3 separate regions of the Homo sapiens genome follow, and all the other regions are linked to region 3. The links are contacts of gene promoters, found by promoter capture Hi-C in human tissues and cell types (Jung and others, 2019). All regions are on one chromosome and are shown on one strand. Each heading gives the region's core, a stretch centred on a gene start or on the middle of the fragment in contact. The rest is flanking DNA. Distances are from core to core; before and after follow the strand shown.

Evidence for each region. Contacts are between HindIII fragments. The study calls those that stand out against the background at their distance.
Region 1: a contact is called between a fragment that was not itself captured here and the fragment with the promoter of GPR6 in region 3, in 1 of the 25 tissues and cell types used here (spleen).
Region 2: a contact is called between a fragment that was not itself captured here and the fragment with the promoter of GPR6 in region 3, in 2 of the 25 tissues and cell types used here (H1 embryonic stem cells and dorsolateral prefrontal cortex).

What each region holds. Positions count from the first base shown.
Region 1 is chr6:109,621,211-109,625,155 of GRCh38, reverse strand. The region is part of intron 12 of AK9 (adenylate kinase 9); the gene reads left to right. Among named protein-coding and RNA genes, the nearest start is that of AK9, 68 kb to the left of the region's middle. The HindIII fragment of the contact is 3,752 bases long and covers 277-3,945 here.
Region 2 is chr6:109,711,923-109,716,062 of GRCh38, reverse strand. FIG4 (FIG4 phosphoinositide 5-phosphatase) reads right to left here. Exons shown (of 23, transcript NM_014845.6): 2 at 887-985. Among named protein-coding and RNA genes, the nearest start is that of FIG4, 23 kb to the right of the region's middle. The HindIII fragment of the contact is 5,896 bases long and covers 1-4,140 here.
Region 3 is chr6:109,976,303-109,980,385 of GRCh38, reverse strand. GPR6 (G protein-coupled receptor 6) reads right to left here and starts at 2,075. Exons shown (of 2, transcript NM_005284.5): 1 at 1,919-2,075; 2 at 1-1,291. The coding sequence starts at 1,273. The coding sequence ends at 185. RefSeq lists an enhancer at 839-1,644 and a silencer at 1,583-1,746. The HindIII fragment of the contact is 14,463 bases long and covers 1-4,083 here.

The DNA of each region.
Region 1 (3,945 bases), core at 903-3,402, 360 kb after region 3:
ACTAAACAAACAATACTCACGCAAATGAAGCTTCCAATTATTAACATGCTCTGGAAAATAAGAGTAATTATTGAATCCAGAAACTAGATCAGGATATTAGAAACAGAAAAGGGAACATTTGGAAAACAAAAAGAGTCCTTTGAAATTAAAATATATGCAAGATGAAAGAACATTAAAAAAGAAAATATAACACAAATGAAAAATTCAATAGAAGAGTTAAAAGATAGAAATTAAAGTTACCTTTTAGGTATTAGTATAAACTGACAAATGGAAAAAAGAATAGAAAAGAAAAGAAACTATAAAGTCAGTCTAGGGTGTTCATTTTCCATATAGGAATTCTTGTAGGAGCTACCAGAGAAAAGAATATTACCAAAGAGATAACTGCAGAAAATTTCCCAGATTGAAGGACATGCTTCCAGATAGAAATGACACAGTAAATTCCCAGTAAAATGGATGGAGAAAGACCTACACGAAGGGACATCACTTTGAAATTATAAGACAATGGGGGCAAAGATCCAGAAGCTTCTGTAAAATGAGCCTAGAAGACTCTGGAGAGGAAAACTAGGTCCCATGGAAAGGACTGGGAATTCCAATAACATGGAACTTCTCAAACCACAACTCTGGAAGCCAGAAGACAATTTTTGGGGGGAGTGGCTGATAGCCTAGAATTTTATATTCAGGCAAACGAAGTCTAATAATAGAATGAGGGCATTTTCAGTCACACACACAAAAAATTGCCTCTCATGTATTCTTTGTCAGAAGCTACTAGAGGATGTAGTGCATCAAAATGGGGGCCTAAACCAAGATGGTGACATGGGATCCAGAAGCAAAAGGGCATCTATGCATCCCTGACAAGGAAGAGGGTTAGGAAATCCCAAGATGGTGGGGGAAGGAGAGCCCATGATGTCAGTTGTTCTGCAGGCCTGGAAGCCTAGAAAATAACCAATCCAGTTTGGGGTAGGAGAACAGAGGGGTCCAGAAGAGATAGCTCCAGGGAGATGATTACCTGATGTATTTTCAAGCAGAAATTTATACTTGTGAAGAAGAGTTTGGGAATTCATTATTGATAGGTATATAGAAAACTAAGCAACCCCCACAAAAAAAAAACCTGCAGGAACAGAAATATGAACATGTTCTACGTAATTGTGAGTAATTGTTCCATAAGCATAATAACATGAATAATGCATATTATTTTTTTAAAATGTATTATCTAATTCTTGGGGGCTTACGGAGGGATGTGGGAGAAGAAATGTGTGTGTGTGTGTGTGTGTGTGTGTGTGTGTGTGTGTGTGTCTAAGATTCCTAACTAGTTCATCATTTGGGGAAGAAAAAGTTTTATCCAGGTAATTTCAGATTATTTAAAGTGTAAATTAGAAGGAAAAAGGAAAAAAATTAAAAGGAAAGTAAAACTTTTGACAGCATACAGAGGAAAATACTGAGTATATATTTGCCATGTGTGTGTTTCTCATTTATTACTGCATAAAAAATTACCCTAACAGCTTGAAACAACAATAAGCGTTTATGATCTTGCATAGTCTCTCTGAGTCAGGAATTCAGGAGTGGCTTAGCTACATGGTTCTGTCCTAAATGCTTTCATGAGGTTACAGGTAAGATGTCATCTGGGGCTGCACTCATCTGACACTAGGCTGGGGCTGGAAGATGGCTCGATCACATGAATGAGACCTCAGTTCCTTTCTATGTAGATCTCTTCATAGGACTGCTTATGTGTCCTCATGACCTGGCAGCTGACTACCCTCAGAAAGAATTAATCAAGGAGGAAGCTATAATGTTTTTCATGACTTAGTCTTAAAAGTCATCCACTATCACTTGCATCGTACTCTATTTAAAGCAAGTCACTACTAAGTTCTAGTTACACTAAAGAGGAGAATTAGGCTCCACCTTCTGAAGGGAGGTGTGTCAAAAGATTTGTGGACTTATTTTAAACCCATCACATCATAATATGTGTCAGATAAAGGAATTATCATTTTAAAATATAAAAAGACAAATCAATATGCAGATAAAGCTTCAATAGGAAAAAAAAATCAAACAGGCAATTCACAGAATAATAGATACAAATAGCCATTAAACATTAGCAAAAGGATACCACCTCCCTGATAGAGAGATGCCAAAAAACAGAGACTTGTCATATCAATCTCATTGTAACAGTTAAAAGATTACTAAAAACACCTAATTTCGATGTGTACCTAGGATGGGAGAAGTACATTCTCATAGACTGCTAGTAAGAGTATAACCATTAGGCATAGAAATTGGAAATACATATGCAAACCTAAAGTCCATGCATATCCTTTGAACTGCCAATTCTGTTTTATGGATTTTTCTAAAGAAACTATCAAAGATATGTAGATAATTGTGTTCATCATAGCCTAGTTTATGTACCAAAAATGTATATACCAAAATATAGATAATATATAATATGTGTGTTATATATTATCTACATTTTATACATATTATCATATATCATATATGTATACATTATGTCTATAATACACATTATATATTATATACATATATTTTATGTCTATAATACACATATATACATATATAGCATACTATGCATATATTATATTAATATACAATATAATATGCAATTTAATATTAATATATTATTGTATTATCCTGATTTATAATAGTAATATAATATTAACACTATATTAATATATATTATATTAATATTATATTATACATTGATGTATAATATACTATAGTATACTATTATACAAATATATATTACATATTATTATATACATAGTATACTATACGATATAGTATGCTATATATACTATATATATGACTATAGTATATACATATACATATATGTACATGTATGTGTATGTATACATATGGAGACTCCTGATTCTTTTTCTTATAGGAATGTATATGTACATAATATATAATATAATATGTATATTATATATAATGTCTAAAATATATACAATATGTATATTATATATAATGTATAAAATATATAAAAATGTATATTATATAATGTATAAAATATATACAATATGTGTATTATATATAATGTATAAAATATATACAATATATAATACACATATATAGATAATATATAATACACATGTATTATCTATATTTTGATATATACATTTTTGCAACTATAAACTAGGCTATGATGAACAAAATTATGAACATATCTTTGACAGTTTTTTTTGTTTTTTTTTTTGTTTTTTTTGCTCTGGAATTTCTCTTTCTGTTTTTTTTTTGTTTTTTTTTTTTTTTTTTTAATTATACTTTAAGTTTTAGGGTACATGTGCACATTGTGCAGGTTAGTTACATATGTATACATGTGCCATGCTGGTGCGCTGCACCCACTAACTCATCATCTAGCATTAGGTATATCTCCCAATGCTATCCCTCCCCCATCCCCCCTCCCCACCACAGTCCCCAGAGTGTGATATTCCCCTTCCTGTGTCCATGTGATCTCATTGTTCAATTCCCACCTATGAGTGAGAATATGCGGTGTTTGGTTTTTTGTTCTTGCAATAGTTTACTGAGAATGATGGTTTCCAATTTCATCCATGTCCCTACAAAGGACATGAACTCATCATTTTTTATGGCTGCATAGTATTCCATGGTGTATATGTGCCACATTTTCTTAATCCAGTCTATCATTGTTGGACATTTGGGTTGGTTCCAAGTCTTTGCTATTGTGAATAATGCCGCAATAAACATACGTGTGCATGTGTCTTTATAGCAGCATGATTTATAGTCATTTGGGTATATACCCAGTAATGGGATGGCTGGGTCAAATGGTATTTCTAGTTCTAGATCCCTGAGGAATCGCCACACTGACTTCCACAATGGTTGAACTAGTTTACAGTCCCACCAACAGTGTAAAAGTGTTCCTATTTCTCCACATCCTCTCCAGCACCTGTTGTTTCCTGACTTTTTAATGATTGCCATTCT
Region 2 (4,140 bases), core at 931-3,430, 260 kb after region 3:
TGACCAATTGCTCCGATCTCCAAATAAAGCCAAGAACCATTACATTATATTGTTAAAAATGCTCAGATAGGTGGGGAGCAGAATGGACCCCAGGAGTAGCATGGGAAATCGTAACAAAGAATTTATCTAAAATTATTACAACACAGAAAATAGTTTTGTTACAAGTAGCTTAGTGAAAATGGATTCCAAACTGTAGTTACTACATATTTGAGAAACCAGGAATCTTTATGGATTCCGAAATAGTCACAGACAGGAATTTCAACACAAAAGATAACTTGAGTTCTTTTGTGTGAACAGTTAAACTTAACTGTTCAAACCACCATATAGTATTTCACTTTTGACTAACAGCTTCAGGTTTTTGTGCCATCTGAATTCCAGCCTCTGTATTCTTGACTCTGGATAATCTAACTCTGGATAAGAACAGCTTAACATTTCCTTAGTGTATAGCAAATCATCAGTAAAGGTCCTAGAGGTGATTTTTAGGAGGAAAATAAAGTCTGTAGCATAGAAGTCCTCCCTGACTTCAAGTAGCTTGATATTAAAGAACCATAACAGATCGTCTCTTTGGCAGATACAATATTAAGTTACACTGAATCCTTAAAATGTCAGCCCTCTTTAAGAAACAATACTCATTATCTTATCCTAAGAGTGTGTTTTCGAAAACAAGTCAAAACGAGGGGCAAAGTATAATTCTGGCGTACTTCTTGACACCAGTGATTTCTAGAAATCAGATTGGAGATTCAAATTCTAGCCAACCAAGAAAAATAACGGAAACTTTTAGATTTATGATAAAAATAATATATCACTAAAAACTGTAAGGATATTTCATGTCCTTTAAACAACAGGTATGAAAGTTTTTTTGCAGTCAGGTTTGGAGGATACTTACCCTGTCATCAATTATGACCAAATCTTTTGGTTCTGTTCTATCAATCTTCAAGACACGATATTTCGTTTCTGCATTATTGCTCCCAACTAGAAAGTATCTCTATAAATAAAAAGGAATGTCATTAGTTTATCAAAGCATTTTGCCCTATACACATTTTATACCACTTTAGTTTTTGAAATTAAATACATTAATAAAGTCAGGTTACTTTTTAAAGAAATATTTCTGTTATGTATAACTGGCAGATTAAAGAAAAGCTGACTCCAAAAGGTCAATTTTAAAATTAAAATATTCCTAGTGGTTTCATGATAAAGATCAGTCTGATGTCTGAAATGTGCCCAGTAACCAGGTCAGATGAATTTAATTGTCATAAATTTAGAGATTAATCTAACTGATTGGAGGCTGATGTTTAAGCTTTACCAGGAAGAAGCTCTGGTAAAAATTCTAAAGCTCAACATATAATTAGGAACGCTTAGGCAATTATAGCTACTAAAGTACTGACAGCTTATCAAAAAACTACTTACAAATTTTCATAAATGTCTGCAAATGTCTTTAATATAGTAACTATAAAATCTACCCAAAAGTCCCATAAATGATTAAAATGGTTGTCCTTCCCAAATGACCTTTTATAGATAAGCTACAAGAAATTATCATCATTCTTTCTTTCCTAAAACAGTTCCTTGGAGCGTTCTGACTAAACACAATCACATTAGTCTTATTAAATAAATACTGAAGGGGTGCTGGGCAAGATGGCTGACTAGAGGCAGCCAGGCGGAACAGCTGCCACCAAGGGACCAGGACAACTGGAGCACTCCTAACAGATCTTCAGAGGGAAGGCACTGAGAGTGGTGGAGGGAAGACACAGAAGCTGGGCTGAAGAGGGAAGAAGCTGGGAACCCTGCATGGGACTACCATGCACTGGCATTCATTCCTGGCCCCCAGTGACTCTGGGGGAATGGGTGAGTTGAACTGGTAAGGAGAAACTTACTCTCGCCAAGGCCTCTGGAATCCTGACAGAAGGAGACTCCCTGACCATCACAGACACTCGAGTTGGCAGGAAGAGCTGCTCAGAGAAGTGGTAGGGGCAACACGCTGGCTTATGCAGAGCCCAGAGGGTTTGGTATGGGAGCGTTTGTAGTGGAGCACAGCCAGGGACACTCATCCCCCTAGGGTTGACTTGTTCCCATAGGAGACTTTAGCCCTAGGGGAACTGTCGGACCTGAACTCTGCAGGGCGCTCTTGCCCATCAGACTGGACAGTCAACCTGAGCACCCCTTGGTCTGCTGACCTCTCTCCCAGGGCCCCAGCCCTGCTTGCAGGGAAGCCTTAGGTGTCCTGGGGGCCTGCATCAGAGACCCTGTGCTGGTGGACTGGCACCTGATTGGTGAAGAGCTCTAGTGGGGTGGCCCCCATGGCCACCCAGCAGCCCACCCTCTCCCTCCCTCCACTGCAGCTTCCCGCAGGCTCACTGCCACTTCCAACATCACTCTGCCAACATGTGTGTGCGCAGGTGGGTTTTGTCTTCCTTGCCCTACCAGTGCACGTGTGCGCATGTACCCTGTCCTGCCACTGCTGCAGTTGGGGGTGCAATCCACCTCCCTCCTTCAGCTGCACTGCCATTGCAGCTGGAGCCTTGGTGGGCACAGAGCCAGCCTGCCCCGTCCTCATCCCACCCCTGTGCCAATGCTGCCATGGGAATGAAACTATGCACAGAGGCCAGTGGACCTTCCCCAGCCCTCAGTGACCACCACTGCCTGCAGCACACAGAGAGTGTATATAGACCTGCACCTACCAGTGCCCTGCCCCTGTGCTAACAGGATCACCATGATGACTGCATGCACAGTCACCAGCAGGGCCTCCCCCGCCCCCTCAGCCATGCTGCCTCTGCTGCTGCTGTGAATGCCCACATGGAGGCAGGCACCTGCTGGCATCCTGCTGCAGCCACCATGCTTTCGCTGCCACTGGCACATGCGAATGAGGACATATCCCACCGCCACCGCACCATGAAATGCTTTGGCTGACACCACCCATCAAAGCATAGTGACCAGCAGTCACTACACGTTGGCACCCTCAGCGCATCGGATACCTAACCTCGAGGAGCCAGAGAACAAAGTCAGAGCCCAATACGAGTATTCCAGAGTTAGAGCACACAGTCCAGGAGTTGGCAGCTGAACGTTGGCCCCCTATAATCTTCCAGAAACAATACCTGTCGACTGAATCCACCTGATCCCACAATCGAACCCTTAAGGTCATCAAATAGGATAAAAGAAAAAAAGGCCATATAAAGGTCAACAGCTTCAAAGATTGAAGAAACATTAGCCCACAAAGATGAGAAAGAACCAGTGCAAGAACTCTGACAACTCAAAAAGCCAGAAGTGCCTTTTTTCCTCCAAAACAACTGCACTTTTCTCCAGCAAGGGTTCTGAACCTGGCTGAGATGGCTGACATGACAGAAATAGAATTCAGAATAGGAATAGAAATGAAGTTCATTGAGCTACAGGAATATGTTGAAACCCAATCCAAGGAAGCTAAAAATCATGATAAAACATGACAGACAAAATAGCCAGCATAGAGAACATTTCTGACCTGATAGAACTGAAAAACATACTACAAGAATTTCATAATGTAATCACAAGTACTAATAGCAGAACAGACCAAGCGGAGGAAAGAATCTCAGAGCTTGAAGACTGGCTTTCTGAAATAAGACAAGAATAGAGAAAAAAAAAGAATGAAAAGGTATGAACAAACCCTCTGAGTAATGTGGGATTATGTAAAGAGACTGACTCTACGACTCACTGGTATACCAGAAAGAGAATGGAACCAACTTGGAAAACATATTTCAGGATATCATCCATGAGAAATTCCCCAACCCATCTAAAGAAGCCAACATTCAAATTAAAGAAATGCAGAGAACCCCAGTCAGATACTCACTAGAAGATCATCCCCAAGGCACATTATCATCATATTCTCCAAGGCCAAATGAAAGAAACAATGTTAAAGGCAGCTAGAGAGAAAGGTCAGGTCACCTACAAAGGGAAGCCCATCAAACTAACAGTGGACCTCTCAGCTGAAGCCCTAAAAGCCAGAAGAGATTGGGGGCCAATATTCACCTTCTTGAAGAAAAGAATTTCCAACTCAGAATTTCATATGCAGCCAAACCAAGCTTCGTAAGCAAAGGAGAAATACATCCTTTTCAGACAAACATGCTGTGGGAATTTGTTACCACCAGAACTGCCTTGCAAGAGCTCCTGAAAGAA
Region 3 (4,083 bases), core at 826-3,325:
TATATGTAAAGTGCCAACAAGCCTCTTTGTCCTTGTAAGTTTGTTACATTTCTCTTTAGTCCCTTTTTCTTTCCAAAGTCAGACTCACACCATTGGGATCTCAGAGTTCGTCAGCAGGCACCGAGCTTACCAAAGGCTGGCTTGTTGGGGTGTGGTGTTGGTGAGAGGACACGGGGCGAGCCCTTCAGACCTCGCTGGGAGACCTGGAACGAAAGGGCACTTTGGACTGGAAACAGCCACAGAGCAGGAGCCACAGGGCGCGCTGGATCTCCTGGTTGCGGAAGGCATAGATGATGGGATTGATCATGGAGTTGTAGGTGGCGGGCAGCAGGGTGGCGTAAGTGTAGACCGCCGGGTCCTCATGGCTGCCCACCACGCAATAGATGGCGAAGGGCAGCCAGCTGGCGCCGAAAGTGCCCAGCACCACAGCCAGTGTACCCACACCCTTTCTGGTGGCAGCGAGATGGGGTGGCGCCAGGCAGTGCTGCTGCAGCGCGATCTGGTGCGCGTGGCGCCAGACCACCTGGCAGATGCGCACGTACAGGTGCAGCATGATGCCGAAGACCATGAAGAAGGCGGCGGAGAGCAGAGCCACGTGGCTGCGCGCCAGCGGGCGCACCACGCTGCAGGCGGCGCGCTCTGCCAGGCAGTTCCAGCCCAGCACGGGCAGCAGCCCCAGGCCTAGGGACACGGTCCAAGTGGCGGCAAGCAGGAGGTGCACGCCCAACAGGGTCCGGCGCGAGTAATAGGTGAGCGCGTTATACAGGGACAGGTAGCGGTCCACCGTAATGGCCAGCAGGCTGCTGACAGAGGCGGCGAAGGAGGCCACGAGGAAGCCCACCGTGAGCAGACTCACAGTCTCCGAGGGCACCAAGTACTGGAACACAAAGTGCAAGATGAGGCCACAGCCCGCCAACAGGTCAGCGGTGGCCAGGCTGCCTACCAGCACGAACATGGGCGTGCGCAGCGCCGGAGTGGACGCGATGAGCGCCACCACCAGCGCGTTTTCTCCAGCGATCACTGTCCCCGACACGCACAGGAGCACGTCCCACGGATTCACCGCTGGCAGCAGGAGTCCCGGTGGCCCAGCCGACAGCTGCGAGGACAGCTCCAGAGACCCATTAGCTCCGCCGCCGGCTCCTAGAGCCGCCGCAGCAGGGGGTCCCCATTCGCCCGTGTCCGGCCCCCCTGCTGCTGTGGCCGCCGCCGCCGCTCCTTCGGCCGCCACTACCACCACCTGGGAGTCGTTGAGCGAGGCGGCGCTCGCGTTCATCGCGGCCGGATTTGCACCCTGCATAGGGAGGGAGTGCAGGCGTCAGGTGTACACTTCAGGCTGCCAGGAAACTTCCCCACGCGTAGAGCCTCCTCTCGCATTGCCCCACTTGAGTTGCCCACCCCACCCTGGGACCCCAGAGCAAATCGGGGAATCATGGGTTAAGTGCGAACCCAAAATAAATACCTGTTGAGTGAGTGAGTGAAATGCCCACGCGGACTTCTGAGTTTTTGCAGATATACACCAGGACAACATGCACTCACATGCACAAGGATCAATTCTCCAAGGCTGCCTGTATTTGCACACGCACCCGAGTGCACCAAGCTAGGAGTGTCATCCTGGGAGAGTCCCGCCTGGGTTGTGGCGGCGCGACCAGGACATCCCCATGGGGCTGGGCAGCAGAGACGCTGTCCGCGGTGCTGAAAGCGAAGTTTCTGGCATTGCGAAGCCTGGAGAGTCCTGGAGCCCAGAGACCCCTGCGAAGGGGGTCTGGGAGGAGAGACTAGGGTGTGTGTATGGGGGCAGCAGAGGGTGGGAGTCAAGGTTGGCTCCATTTCTCCTCTTCTGGAAAGACCTGTCCCCTGGATATCTTTCTCCCCTCCTCTCCCCACATCCTCAAAGTTCCCTGGGAACTCGGCCACTCACCTGGGGCGTCAGGACTTCTGGAAGTCGCTGGTCATGGGCGCCGAGGCGGGGCGCCGGGCTGAGCTCCCCGCGCAAACAGAGCAGCTGCCTGCAGGAGGCGGCCGGGCCGGGGAGGAGGCAAGCGCGGGGCGCCTGTCGCTGTGCCGGCTCCGCGAGTGAGAGATACAGTTGGTGGCAGAAAAGGCGGCTGCGAGCGGCGCGCGCTGCAGATTGACAGGCAGGGCGTGGTGACGTCAGGCTCCCGGCTCCCGGTGCGAGCCCAGCACTCACTCTCCTCGCCAGCCCATCCTGTGCCCTCCCCGCCGCACTCCCCCTGCCCCCAACACTATCTGAGGGTCCTAGGAGGGAGGAGAAGCCAGAGCAACCACCTCCAGTCCAGAACTTCCAGGAATGGGATGGGAGAGAGACAAGGAGAGGTAGAAAGGAGTGAAGAAGACCCTGAGACCAGGCGGCGAAGAGGGTGAGCTGGGAGGGGAGGGGTGAAGGATGAGTGACACCTGCCGGGCAGCAAAGCCCAGCGTCAAAGATCACTGAGGGATCAGGTCAAAAAAGAAACCCCGGAGAAGGGGGAGGTTGGGACAGGGGTGTTTGATGGGAAAGTAGCTACCTTTAAAAAAAAATGCCGTTCCCGAAACAGGAATTATCTGGGAAAAGAAATTCACTTTTTAAAAATTTTATTTATTTATTTATTGAGACAGAGTCTCACTCTGTCGCCCAGGCTGGAGTGTAGTCGCCCGATCTCGGCCCACTGCAACCTCTGTCTCCTGGGTTCTAGCGATTCTCCTGCCTCAGCCTCCCCAGTAGCTGGAATTACAGATGTACGCCACCACGCCCAGCTAATTTTTGTAGAGATGGGGTTTCGCCATGTTGGTCAGGCTGGTCTCGAACTCCTGACCTCGTGTGATCCACCCGCCTCGGCCTCCCAAAGTGCTGTTATTACAGGTGTGAGCCACCTCACCAGGCCTGAAATCCAATTTTTAAAAAGGATGTTTGTGGTACATGCTCAGTTGAGTAGAGTCAGGGAAGAAATTCTGAGTTATGGGGAGCAGTTAAAAGATGGATAAGACAGGGACATCTGAGGAAAACAATCTCTTCTTTTGGAGGTTGCCTGTGCAATTCCTCTCTTTCCCATTATCTTTTCTGAACTCTACACAGCAGGTTTCACTGTGACCTTTTCGGCCCATGTTTTCCCGATTTCGGTAGCTGATATCGCCCTTGGAACTTGCGCTTTAATTAAAGACCAGGTCTGCATCTTGCTAGAGAAAAGGAAAACAGCAAAATGTGATTTACTTTCTTGGCTTCAGACTTTGCCCTGTTAATTAGTACCCTATAAAACAAATTACAGGACGAAAATCGTGATAACTCAGCTGCACCAGACTTCAGTAGGCAGGAGTTTTATTTTCAGCCCAGATAAATCATCCTTTTGTTTTAAAGGTGTTTTGTTTTGTCAGTAAGATACGAATATTAGTCTTCTTATTCTCTTTCTTCTCCCAGAATGTGCAGTAGCTGTACCTGGGCAAGAGCTAAAATAGTTGATGCCATCTGAGGTTCTAAAATAGATGATTGCACATTGGCATGATGGCATTGCACAGAGGCCACAGCCATACTTTTCAGGGACCACATGGTCTGGGAAAAGTGAAAATTGGCAACATTTGTTGCTAGTGCTCCCCCTACTTCTCCCTGTGGACCCTTTCCTCCCTTCACTTTGCCTCTAGCTCCAAAGAGGGGAAAAAAGATATTCAGACTGTCCATGGGTTGGAGGATAAGTTTACCCTAGGTTGCTGCCTTTAAACATGACCCCCAAGTCCAGACTATTCCTGCCTCAATGCAGCCAACTTAATTACAAGAACAAGGGACATATGACAGTTCAATTATTTGGTGCAATAGCTGATGTTGGACAGAAAGTGAGTTTACACACAATTTATCCATTTGGAGAGCTTAAAAAAATCCACACACCACTATTTTCTTGAACCCAAAACTTGGCTGAAGTTCTAAATTTCTGAAAAGAGCCGTTTTGTGTTTCGGTACAAGATTGTCATCTAAGAGTCAAGAATGTTATTTCAGAGCTGTCAAGTGAGCCGTCAAACCACTGTAACAGCATGTTAACTGAGGATTTTCCAAATGATCAGATAAAAGCCCAAGGGGAGGAGAATCCTCCTTAATAT